Regions from separate parts of the Homo sapiens genome. Here regions 2 and 3 are each linked to region 1. The links are contacts of gene promoters, found by promoter capture Hi-C in human tissues and cell types (Jung and others, 2019). All regions are on one chromosome and are shown on one strand. The core of a region is centred on a gene start or on the middle of the fragment in contact, and the rest is flanking DNA. Distances in the headings are between cores, read along the strand shown.

What was found. Contacts are between HindIII fragments. The study calls those that stand out against the background at their distance.
Region 2: a contact is called between a fragment that was not itself captured here and the fragment with the promoter of SOX18 in region 1, in 1 of the 25 tissues and cell types used here (lymphoblastoid cells).
Region 3: the fragment with the promoter of ARFRP1 here is called in contact with the fragment with the promoter of SOX18 in region 1 in 1 of the 25 tissues and cell types used here (lymphoblastoid cells).

The regions. Positions count from the first base shown.
Region 1 is chr20:64,047,666-64,051,424 of GRCh38, forward strand. It overlaps SOX18 (SRY-box transcription factor 18), which reads right to left and starts at 1,974. Exons shown (of 2, transcript NM_018419.3): 1 at 1,494-1,974; 2 at 1-1,297. The coding sequence starts at 1,851. The coding sequence ends at 501. RefSeq lists a silencer at 1,664-1,713, an enhancer at 1,845-2,526 and promoters at 1,851-2,959, 1,854-2,751, 1,854-2,114. The HindIII fragment of the contact is 20,169 bases long and covers 1-3,759 here.
Region 2 is chr20:63,774,967-63,779,083 of GRCh38, forward strand. It overlaps ZBTB46 (zinc finger and BTB domain containing 46), which reads right to left. Exons shown (of 5, transcript NM_001369741.1): 3 at 712-996. Among named protein-coding and RNA genes, the nearest start is that of ZBTB46-AS1, 31 kb to the right of the region's middle. RefSeq lists an enhancer at 2,954-3,491. The HindIII fragment of the contact is 8,553 bases long and covers 1-4,117 here.
Region 3 is chr20:63,705,989-63,710,245 of GRCh38, forward strand. ARFRP1 (ARF related protein 1) reads right to left here and starts at 1,988. Exons shown (of 8, transcript NM_001267547.3): 1 at 1,879-1,988; 2 at 1,011-1,109; 3 at 663-750; 4 at 369-451. The coding sequence starts at 1,103. ZGPAT (zinc finger CCCH-type and G-patch domain containing) reads left to right here and starts at 2,051. Exons shown (of 7, transcript NM_181485.3): 1 at 2,051-2,130; 2 at 2,565-3,176. The coding sequence starts at 2,593. RefSeq lists enhancers at 1,054-1,113, 1,976-2,936 and silencers at 1,264-1,313, 1,404-1,643, 2,064-2,123, 2,164-2,323. The HindIII fragment of the contact is 11,218 bases long and covers 1,439-4,257 here.

The DNA.
Region 1 (3,759 bases), core at 724-3,223:
CTGTATTCCTCACATTGCAAAAGTCTTTGCCACAGTGACGCTTCTGATCACTGAAACTTCTTGGAAGAAAAGTTTAAGAGTTTAATTAAAAATTAAATATATTGTATTAGGTATATTTTTTAAAAGGGCAAAGTAAAAAATATTAATACAATCTGGTTGTAGAAAATACACTGCAAGAAAAGGAGCAGGTGCTTCAAAAATGTAACCCTGGCAACTCTGCCAACAGGTCCTGGGCTCGGGCTTCCTGGAAAAGCCCCGGGACACGTGGGAACTCCAGGCACCCTCGCAGGGGCCCCCCGAGGGCAGGTGGCCCAGAAGCCCAGGAAGGGTGGCCTGGGAGGTGGAACGGGCGCAAGGCCGAGCATCACTGGCTCCTAGGGGGCTGTGACATGGAACCAAACATACACGCGTATGAGAGAGCAGAGCGGCAGCGACGCGGTCGGATCGGTCGCGGGGGCTGCGGGAGGAAGCGCTGCAGGGACCCGGGCGGCGCCGGCGGCCTAGCCGGAGATGCACGCGCTGTAATAGACCGCGCTGCTGGCGTCCGACAGCGCGGAGATCAGGCTGCTCTCCTCTGGGCAGGACATGGCGCGCGGGCCCAGTTTGGCCAGTGCCACGTGGTACGGGAGCCCGGGGGCGTCGGGCCGAGTCCGGCTGCAGTTGAGGTACTGGTCGAACTCGGTGAGGTCCACGTCGGCCCACAGATCGGCGGCGGGCCCCAGCGGCTCGGCGCTCTCCAGCGGCGGGGCCTCGGGCGGCGGCGACAGCGGGCCGGGGTACGGGCCGGGCGTGCCCAGGGTGCCGTAGTACAGGCCAGCGAGCGGCGCCGCGGGGGGCGCGGTCCTGAGCGCCTCCGCCAGGGGAGCCCCGTAGCAACCGCCGGGGTCCCGCGACAACTCGGTGGGCGCGTAGGGCGCGCGGAAGGGCCGCAGCGCGCAGTCCTCGGGCGCCGCGGGCGGTGGGAAGAAGGCAGCCTCGCCGGGCTCCAGGCCGTCCAGAGGCGAGCGCTCGGGCGTGGGCAGCCCCAGGCCGTCGAACTCGGCGCCCAGCGGGGGCAGCTCGCGGAAGGCGCGAGCCGAGCCAGACGCCGCGGGGAAAGGCTCGGGCGGTGGCTGCGGGGGCGCTAATCCCGGGAGCAGGAGGCCGGGCTCCAGCCGCCGGGCCTTGCGCGCCTGCTTCTTGCGGCGCGGCCGGTACTTGTAGTTGGGGTGGTCGCGCAAGTGCTGCACGCGCAGCCGTTCGGCTTCCTCCACGAAGGGCCGCTTCTCCGCCGCGTTCAGCTCCTTCCACGCTTTGCCTGCGGGCCGTGGGCGCCAGTGAGTGGAACGCCGTCGGGCGGGTGGGCGCCGAGCCCTCCGTGCGCCCGGGACGCCCCGCGAGGGTTTGGCGCAGCCCCCGCACCCCGCGGCCCGGGACCCCTGCCCCCCCCGCCCCACCCCGGCCCGAGCCCCCCCCGCCCTCTCCCCCTTCTCTGCCGCCCTCCCGCCGCTCACCCAGCATCTTGCTGAGCACCGCGTTGTGCAGGTCCGGGTTCTGCTGAGCCAGCCGCTTGCGCTCGTCCTTTGCCCACACCATGAAGGCGTTCATGGGCCGCCGGATGCGCGACTCGTCTGCCGCCTGGCGTTCCCCGCGGCCGGCCGGGCTGAGGCCATAGCGCCCCGGCTCGGGGCTGCGCGGGGGACTGCGCTGCGGGCTGGGCGGCGAGGCGGGCGCGGCGGGCGCGGCGAGGGCGGCGGGGCCGGCGGCGAGGCCGCGCGTGTCAGCGGCGGCCCCGTGTCCCGGGGCCCATGCACAGTCGCGGCGGGCGGGCGGGTCGTCCTGTGCGCCGTAGCCGGGCGGCGATCTCTGCATTCCAGCTGGGCGCGGCCTGGGCGGAACGGAGCGCGGGAGCGCGGCGGGCGGGCGGCGGGCACTGGGGAGCCGGGCGCAAGGGCAGGCCAGGCCGGGAGGGCGGATGGCGGTGGGGACGGCGGTGGCCTCGGGCCGGGCGGGCGCCCAGATATAGCGGCTCAGGGCCAATCGGCGGCGGGGCGGGCGGGCGGGGGCGGGTCGGGGCCGCCTCCTCCCCGGGGGCTCCCTTTCTTCTCAGGCCGGGCGGGATTCCGCTGAGGCCTCCCCCGCGCACAGCCCCCCCACCTCCCCCGCGACCTCTCAGAAGGAGAGACCCCCCGGGTGGGAAAGAAAGGGCTGCTGATGAGGGCCGGTGCTGCCAGACTTTCGGAGGCGAGCTGCCACCCACCCACGGAGTCGGACCCCCGGGCAGTAACTGGGGGAGGGCGGCAGTGTCCCGCTGGTTGCCGTTCCCCGCCCCCCGCTGGGAGGCTCCATGGGGAGGAGAGGGCCCTTTTTCACACCAAGTTCTGGGGAGGCTGCCTTCCCAACAGCCGGTAAGTCCTTCCTGGAGTGCAGCGCCTTCAGAAAAGGCCCCGTCTTTGGGGAGGCGCTCTGAGTCCCCAGGGGCGCCCATGCTGGAAACTCTACACCCATGTGTAACCGTCAGCACCAGGGACTTTGAGTGCCTTTATGGGACAAGATGGTCTTCTGTCCTCACTCCCAAACCAACTCTGGCACAAGGCAAAGCTGACACAGGGAGGGAGAGAGCAGAGGCCCTGGACGGAGCCCACAAAGAGAAGGGGGAGCAGGGACGCAGAGGCTGTGGCGTCCTCCCTGCCCCCCAAGGGCCCTTGGGGAAGGGGCTGGGACCCTCAGTGGCTTGCTGGCTCCCCTGCCCAGCCCAGGCCACCGCTGCAGCAAGAGGCAGGGCCTACCTGGGTCCTTCCCACTGGCCCCTCCCTGGACCCTCTGACCTGGGCGGGGGCGGGTTCCGGAGGAGCGTCCAGCTTCCTGAATTTTCACTGTCCCCTTCCTACTCCATCAGGAGGGGATCTGGGCTCCAGAGCTGAGGGTCTCCCTCTGGAGGTCCTCCCCTCCCACTGCCACGCATGGTTCTACTGGAGAAGGGTTGGGTGTCCCCAGCAGCCCTCCAGGCAGGGTCAGAATCTCGCCACCTCGCGGCACATCTCCTCATAGCCTGGAGGCTCCCCAGCTCCCCCCGCCACACTATGCCGGGAGCCCCATGGGTAGAGGCCACAGGTCTTGTGACCCTGAGCCTGTGTGGCCAGAAGCTCTTGGTTCTCTGTCCCTGCCAGCCTCGCTAGGCCACATCCAGCCTGTGTTATGAATGGGGTGGGCCCCACGTGGGCCTTGCAGTGCCCCTTAGAGGCTGTTCCTGAACTGTCCCCAGGGGCACTCCTGCCCTGAGGCCAGCACCCCCACAGGGGCACTCCCACCGAGGGCTGTCGCGGTCGGTGTCCAGCCCTCCCCAAAGCCCCACATCACAGTCTGTCTCGACGCCCATCGTCCCAGCATACGGGGCTGGGTCTCCCAGTCTGGTCTCCAGATCTCCCGTCCCTCCAGTTTGCCCCACGGGCCTAGCACCTCGTTCACAGACACTGAGCCAGTGCTGGCTAATGGGGGGCCCGTGGGGCACCAGGAGGTGCGGCCCCTGGCTTTTCTGGGGAGGCAGGCAGGGTTGTGGCCACAGGGATGGAGGGGCTCACAGGCCTCTGCCGGATGCTGCTAGTCCTCCTTTAATCTCAGTATGGGTGGCTGGACCCTTGGCCGAGTCTCAGTGTGGGTGGGCCTCCTGGGCAGCTGGCAGGAGGGTGCAGGGGGGGTGGGGAGCCGTGCGAAGACCCCAAAGGGCTACCACTTGGCGGAAGCTCTCTCTACTCACAACCTTAGGGTTGCAGTCAGGGG
Region 2 (4,117 bases), core at 436-2,935, 270 kb before region 1:
TGCTGGGATTGCAGGCGTGAGCCACCGCGCCCGGCCCCTTTGTTTTTTTAAACTCCGAAAGCTGAATGCCCCCGTCTTGTCAGGAAGTCAGTCAGTCTGGGGTGAGCCCGACACGCAGCAGTGGCTGAACTTTTGGCCACATCTCGGCAGGCGCGTCGTCGTTTGGATTCAGCTGGGGACATTTACGTTTTAAAGACAACCTCCGACGCATCTTTAAAAGTCACACGCCACCAGCATCATCCAGCGAAGGCAACGCAAGGCGAGGCCCCCAAGTGCAATCGGCTCGCAGCGGCCGCCCCCATCTCCCTTGCGCGAAACGAGCCTCAGCACGAAGGCGACAGAGGGGCCGGCAGGGGGCGCCCGAGCCCGTCTCTGGAGCACAAAGACCCCCGGCCCCTGCGCGACCCGGACGAGCTCGCATTCAGCCAACGACTCCTGTGAGAAACATTCCAGCAAGCACTCGGCTGCTCCCCTGCCCGCCGCGCTCACAACCGCGTCCATTCCCTCCTCACTCTAAAGCCAGCCCCCCGTGCACCTGAGAGGCCAGTCCAGGCTGTGACGCCGCATCCTCACCTCCCGCAACAGGGAGGTCAGCAGGCGGCCGAGCAGCAGGGACAGACCCTCAGCCTCATCTCATCTTGGCCCGGGACCTGCAACCCTCAGCCTTCAAAACCACACCAAAGCCAAGCGGCCCCCAGGGCCTGCACTTACGGGACAGCGAGTGGGCCCCTCTGGGCAGGTACTCGAACAGCAGGGAGCCGTCATCCCCCAGCACGTCGGCCTTCAGCGACAGCAGGCTGTTCTTACTCATGAGCGCCGCGCGCAGGTTGGCCACCGCGGTGGCCTGATGCAGGGCGTCGTCCTTCTCTGGGGTGAGGGGAGGGCCCAGATAGCTGGCTTCTCCTCCCAGGAGACCCTCCTCCACCTGTGCATAGAGCTCGGCCCTCTCTCCTCGGCTGTCGGAGCTGCTGGCTTCGGTGACGGACAGGTCCGCATCTGGGGACAGAGGGACACACGTCAGAAGACACGGGTCGTTCCCAGACTCTCCAAGTGGGACAGGCGACACATTTAGAAGGACAGCGACCAGCTTCTGCCTGAGCTACAGAGCAGCATCAAGTCCAGCCCACCCTGGGAGCCGGGCACCTGCCCCAGCAATGCAGCAGCCTCGGCCCAGCCCGGCCTTTCCTGCCCACCCAGGTCCCATGGCTGCGGTGGAGTCTCAGCCAAGGCTTTGGAGGACGGCTCAACTCAGAACAACGGGGTTGCCCTCCCTGGACGAGGCGCTGCAGACCTGGTACCTGCTCTGCTCCAGGGCCGAGGGCCTGAGAGTCAGAGGCTCCTGGGGCGGCAGTATTTCCATCTCGCAAAGACGAGGAGAGGCTCAAAATGGATCAATGACGTTAGAGCTAAATCTATAAAATTCTTAGAAGAAAATCCGCATGATCTCAGATTTGGCAATAGGTTCTTAGATACAAAACCAAGCACAAGCAACAAAATAAATTGGACTCATCAAAATTAAATGTCTGTGCTTCAAAGGATACTACCAAGAAAGTGACGCCGGGTGCGGTGGCTCAAGCCTGTGATCCCAGCACTCTGGGAGGCCGAGGCGGGCGGATCATCTGAGGTCAGGAGTTCAAGGCCAGCCTGGCCAACATGGTGAAACCCCATCTCTACTAAAAATACAAAAATTAGCCGGGCGTGGTGGCACGTGCCTGTAATCCCAGCTACTCAGTAGGCTGCGGCAGGAGAATCGCTTGAACCCAGGAGGTGGAGGTTGCAATGAGCCGAGATCACACCACTGCACTCTAGCCTGGGCGACAGAACAACGCTCTGTCTCAAAAAAAAAAAAAAATTGCAACCTATATATCTGATAATAAAAAGGCAAATACTGTAACTCAATATAAAAATGGGCAAAAAATCTTACTAGACATTTGTCCAAAGAAGATGTATAAATGGCCAAGACGCACAGGAAGAGATGCTCAGCATCACCCATCACTAAGGAAACGCAAAACACAACACGATTCCACCACACAATACGGTTCCAGCACACGCCACGGTTCCACCACACGCCACGGTTCCACCACACGCCACGGTTCCAGCACACGCCACGGTTCCACCACACGCCACGGTTCCAGCACACGCCACGGTTCCACCACACGCCACGGTTCCAGCACACGCCACGGTTCCAGCACACACCCACTGGGATGGCTGGATATAAAAAGGCCAGGCACCGTGGCTCACGCTTCCAGTCCCAACATTTTGGGAGGCTAAGACCGGAAGATCTATTGAGAACAGGAGTTCAAGACCAGCCTGGGCAACACAGCAGGACAAAAAGTTAAAATAAAACAAAATTAGCTGAGTGTGGTGGGTTGTGCCTGTGGTCCTAGCTACTCAGGAGGCTGCGGCGGGAGGATCACTTGAGCCTGAGAGGTTGAGGCTGTGGTGAGCTGTGATCGAGCCACTGTACTCCAGTCTGGGTGACAGAGTGAGACCCTATCTCAAAAACAACAACAAAAAAGATCAGATAATATTGGCAAGGATGGGAAGAAATCAGAACCCTGGAACCTTGCTGGTAAGAGTGTAACATGGTGCCCTCCTGCGGAGCAGGTCGGCAGGTCCTCACAACATCAGGTACAGGAATCACCACGGGGCCCAGCAGTTCCACATGTACGCATGCAGATACCCACGAGAAATGAAGACACAAAAGCTCACAGAAAACCTCGTCCAGGACGCGCGTAGCACGTTATCCATAACAGCCAAAAGGTGGAACAGCCAACAAGTCCATCGATGGACGAATGGATAAACATAACAGGTCCATCCCCACAATGGAATATTATGTGGCCATGAAAAGGCATGAAGAACAGACACAGGCCACCACACAGAGGAGCCGTGAAAACATGCTCAGCGGACGAAGCCAGACACAGAACCACGCAGAGGAGCCTTGAAAACTGCTGAGTGAACAAAGCCAGACACAGAAGGCCACATGCCATTTCATTTCCATTAAATATCCAGAACAGGCAAATCAAGACAGAAAGTAGGTTTGTGGCTGCAAAAAGGGGCTGGGGAGGGGTCTCGGATGAGGGCTAAGTGGTGCAGGGTTTCCCTCTGAGCCGAGGAAAATGTTCTAAGGGGACTGTGCTGATGGCTACAGGATGCTGTGAATATACCATACCAAAAACCTCTGAACTGCAGACTTTAAATGGGTGAGTGGGGTGTGAATCATCTCTCAGTAAAGCTTCTATTTAACAACAACAACAAAAACAACAAAAGGTGACGACTTGAGTCATGAATTCAACGGATTCCTCCGAGTGTCAGCTCAGGCCAGCCAGGGCTTTGTGGAGTACCCTCCCTCTAGTGGGGCTGTATGCACGATATCAAAACACCCCCAGAACACGCTGAGCGATGATGATTTGCAGATATTTTCCCACAGCAAGAGAATGGATTTTCCACCGTGGTCGTTGACAGGAATCGGGATCAGAACCACAGAAACACAGGGGCATGGGGCAGGGGGCACTTGGAGCAGGGGCAGAGGTGACGTCTGCAAACACCCCTGGAACAAACATGCACACGTGAGGCCCAGCAGCTGAGAGCTGGGTGTGGCAGGTGGGCAGGGCCCCCGTCAGGCAGCACACGGGGTGAGTCCAGCCTGGCAGGAGCGGGTGGGAGTCTCCAGGGACAGTGACATTCGGACCGTCGAGCTACCTATGACTTCTTCTGGAGGCCTCTAAGGGATATGTTTCCAAACTCTACTCTTTTTCCAAACTATACTCCTTTTTATATTTTTTTACAAATCCCTCGATGACACATCATATTAATTGTGCATTTCTAGGAACTAAATATACAGGTTATATCCAAACTTATGTTAAGGCTTTGTCTTAGCTTGGGATGCCATGACAAAATACCACAGGCAGGGCGGCTTAACAACGAAAATTAGTTTCCTCACGCTCTGGAGACTGGGAAGTCCAAGGTCAAGGTGCCAGCAGATCTGCTGTCTGGTGAGGCCCCTCCTGACCTGCAGATGGCGGCAGGTGAGCCCTGGGGGCCCCTCCTCAGAGTCTGGGAGCAGAGTGGGTGGTGGGTGCTGTGTGCTCACGAGCGTGTTCAGGGATCAGGGCCC
Region 3 (4,257 bases), core at 738-3,237, 340 kb before region 1:
CCAGTGAACACGCCCTTCTCTCACTGGTCACCTGAGGATGCCGCACTCTGTCAACAGGTTCCCCTAATACATGCTCTGATCTGATCGCCTTGGCATTTAGTGATTCTTTCCCTGGAATTCTCCACTGGCCCCATCGCAGGGAACTCCCAAGTGGGAAACTCCCCTACCACCACTTTTGGGGCAACTTCAGCTAAGGGTTCAGCTGGGACAAAACAGGGAGCCACTCGGGAACCTGGGACAGGACCAGAGAGAAAACCCGAGGGACAGAGTGGGTAAGGAAAACTGCTGAGGAAGGGCCCAAAGGGCACTCTGGAAAGAAGTGGCACTGGAGGGCTGGGGTGGGGGTGGTCCTGGCCAGGGAGTCTTACCTTGTCCCACAAAGACTGCAGCTCTTCCTGCCCTCCTAAGTCCCAGAACATGAGCCGAGCCTTTCCCACATCCACAGTGCCGACTGGGGAGAGGAGGAAACAGGCAAGGCTCATGACCTTGGTCCTCGACACACCCAGTCCCAGCTCTCCCAGGGGATGGGGCAAACCATGCTGGTGCCACTCAAATGAGACTTGAGAGGGGCCCGACAGGGCTGTGGCCACGGGCCAGCTGGACTGTGAATATCACGGCATCCTCAAGGCCCCAAACCCACAGCCTGCTATTGAGACCCTTACTGTTTAGGCCCACGGTGGTGGTGATTTTGGATAGACTCATCCCCTTGTAGTTCTTGTTAAATCGGGTTTTCGACTGCTCCAGGAAGGTCTGAGGAGAGAGGCAGAGGCGAAACACATCAAGGAGGGGCTATACTGGCTTCCAAATATCCTTACTCAGGTCTGTTCTTTAAAAGACAGAAACAGAAACAGAGCAACACTCTGCTCTTCAGGAGGCTGGTGGTGACTATCCTGCCGTCTCAGGTGAAATTTGGCTTCCGTCTGGGTAGTGAACGTGCAGCTGACAGCACAAAACCGAAGGGGGCGCCGCCAGGCCGTGGGAAAGGTGCGCGCAAGGGCGTGGGCACTCACCGTCTTCCCAGCATTGTCCAGGCCCAGGATCAGGATGCAGTACTCGTCCTTCTGAAACATGTACTTGTACAAGCCCGACAGCAGCGTGTACATCCTGCCCTGGGCACCCCAACATAGGTCAGTGTGCAGCCAGAAAGCACCTCCCCTCCCCCGGGCTTCTCCACGGTGGTCAGTGGCGCCCCACGTCCAGCCGACCGCTCAGGACGAGAGCCTGGGGGCCATTCCCGACTCCTCGTCCCTCTCCCACCCCGTCCCTCTGTAACTTCTCCCAGGTCAGCCGCCACTGTGTCCTGCTCACAGCAATGACTGCGACCTCTCCGCATACACATCGGTTCCGGCCCCTCCCCTGCTCGCGGGACTACCCAGCCGGGTGTTCACAGTGAGCTCAGCCGCGCTCCCGCCCTCCCCCGAGGCTTCGCTCCCACGCTTCACGCGCGCGGAACGGGGAACACACTCGCTGCAGCCCCGCCTGGGCCACGGCACCCTCGAGCGCCAGCCCCGCGCCCCACCCGGGAGCAGCGAGCCACCGGCGCGCTCCCCAGGAGCCCCTGCAGGCGCCGGGTAGGGACGCCCCATCACCCCATTTCTTAAAACGGGGACGGCCCTGGGGGGAGCGGACTACAGGGCGGGTGAGCAGCGGCGCGGCTGCTCCTGGAGTGCACCTGGAGGCGGCGCGCGGCTGGCAGGGAACGACTGCGAAGGAAGAACCTGGGTCGCGGCCCCCGGCTACGTCCGCCCCAAGCCGCCGCCGCCAGGTCTGAGGCTCCCCGACAAGCAGCCAAAGCTGGCTCCTGTCACACCCGCGTCCCACCTCGAGTCCTGGGCCGCCCCTCGGGCCTCGCGCCTCACCGCACAGCCTGCGGCCTACCTGCGTCCGCCGCGCCCTCGGAGCCGCTGCTGCTGACCCCCGCTGACCTCCGCTGACCCCGCGCTAACCCCGCGCGGCGCCTGACGGGACGCGGGCCGGCCTCAGGGAATGAGCTGAACCGCGTCCCAGCGGCCTCCGCGCTCCGCTTCCCGGCTGCCCCCGCGCGCCAAGCACTTCCGGAAGCGGCGGCGCTCGGGAGGAAGTGCCGATCGGCTGCTGGGGCGAAAAGGGGGCGCCGGGCCGCTCTAGCCGGTGAGGCCGGCGGGCTCTCTGTGGCTGCGGCTGGGAAACCGCGCGGAGGAGGTGCCCGGCCGGGGACCAGGTGGCCGCGGTTTGCGGGGACGCGGCCCTGGCCAGACAGAAGAGACGCCGGGCGGGGGGGCGCGGCCGGCCTGGAAGGCGGCGGGCGCGGCGGGTGGGCTCGGCGGAGGGTGAGGCGGCGGGGCGCCCCGCGGGGAAGGGGCTCCGGAGTGACGCGGGACCCGGCTAGCGGCGAGCCCACGGCGGCTCGGAAGGGAAGCGCGGAGCCTGAGCGGGGGTACCCGGGCTGCGACCTCTGCGCTGGGAGCTGTGCCTCTGAGCCGGTGTCTCCCCGAGGGAAAGGGGACGTGCCCGTGCCCGTGCCCGCCCTCAGGCTGTGGGGTCGGTCCCGAGACGCGGGGCTCAGCTGGCTTCTCTTCTTGCAGCCCTGGTCCAGCGCCTCCCTCTCTCAGCATGGACGAGGAGAGCCTGGAGTCGGCCTTGCAGACCTACCGTGCGCAGCTGCAGCAGGTGGAGCTGGCCTTGGGCGCCGGCCTGGATTCGTCTGAGCAGGCTGACCTGCGCCAGCTGCAGGGGGACCTGAAGGAGCTCATCGAGCTCACCGAGGCCAGCCTGGTGTCTGTCAGGAAGAGCAGCTTGTTGGCCGCGCTGGACGAAGAGCGCCCGGGCCGCCAGGAAGATGCTGAGTACCAGGCTTTCCGGGAGGCCATCACTGAGGCGGTGGAGGCACCAGCAGCGGCCCGTGGGTCCGGATCAGAGACCGTTCCTAAAGCAGAGGCGGGGCCAGAATCTGCGGCAGGTGGGCAGGAGGAGGAAGAGGGAGAGGACGAGGAAGAGCTGAGTGGGACAAAGGTGAGCGCGCCCTACTACAGCTCCTGGGGCACTCTGGAGTATCACAACGCCATGGTGGTGGGAACGGAAGAGGCGGAGGATGGCTCGGCGGGTGTCCGTGTGCTTTACCTGTACCCCACTCACAAGTCTCTGAAGCCGTGCCCGTTCTTCCTGGAGGGAAAGTGCCGCTTTAAGGAGAACTGCAGGTAAAGCCCTTTGTTGTCAGATGCCAACCTTAGGGGCGTAAGGGGCACGCACACAGGGTCGGGTCAGGATCGGCCCTCCCTTTGCTTTGCAGTTTTGTCTCAGCTTCCTGGGGCAGGCGTGCTTTGACAGCTGTGTCTGTGTTCAGGCGTCTACGTCTTCCTTCTGGGGTGAATCAAGAAGCATGGAAGGAGGCCAGGCGCGGTGGCTCACGCCTGTAATCCCAGCACTTTAGGAAGCCGAGGCGGGCAGATCACCTGAGGTCAGGAGTTCAAGACCACGCTGGTCAACATGGTGAAACCCCATCTCCTTAAAAACACAAAAATGAACCGGTCGTGGTGGCGCGCACCTGTGGTCCTGGCTACTCAGGAGGCTGAGGCAGGAGAATTGGTTGAACCCAGGAGGCCGAGTTTGCAGTGAGTGGAGATGCAGCCACTGTACTGCAGCCCGAGCAGCAGTGCAAGGCTTATGTGGAAGAGAGTAGGTCTCCAGCCTATCGTCAGTTTTTTTTTGGTGGTTGTTTTAATTTTTTTTGAGACAGGGTCTTACTTTGTCAACCAGGCTGGAGTGCAGTGGCATAGTCCTGGCTCACTGCAGCCTGGACCTCCTGGGCTCAACCGATCCTCCTGCCTCAGCCCCCCTAGGAGCTGGGCTACAGACTCACGCTACTACACCCAGCTAATTTTTATATTACTATAATTTTTTATCTTTTTTTTGAGATGGAGTCTTGTTCTGTTGCCCAGGCTGGAGTGCAGTGGCGTGATCTCGGCTCACTGCAAGCTCCGCCTCCCGGGTTCACGCCATTCTCCTGCCTCAGCCTCCCGAGTAGCTGGGACTACAGGCGCCCGCCACCATGTCTGGCTAATTTTCTGTATTTTTAGTAGAGACGGGGTTTCACCATGTTAGCCAGGATGGTCTCAATCTCCTGACCTCGTGATCCGCCCACCTTGGCCTCCCAAAGTGCTGGGATGACAAGCGTGAGCCACCGCGCCTGGCCTTTTTTTTTTGGAGACAGAGTTTCACTCTCCTCACCCAGGCTGGAGTGTAGTGGCGCAATCTCAGCTTACCGCAACCTCTGTCTCC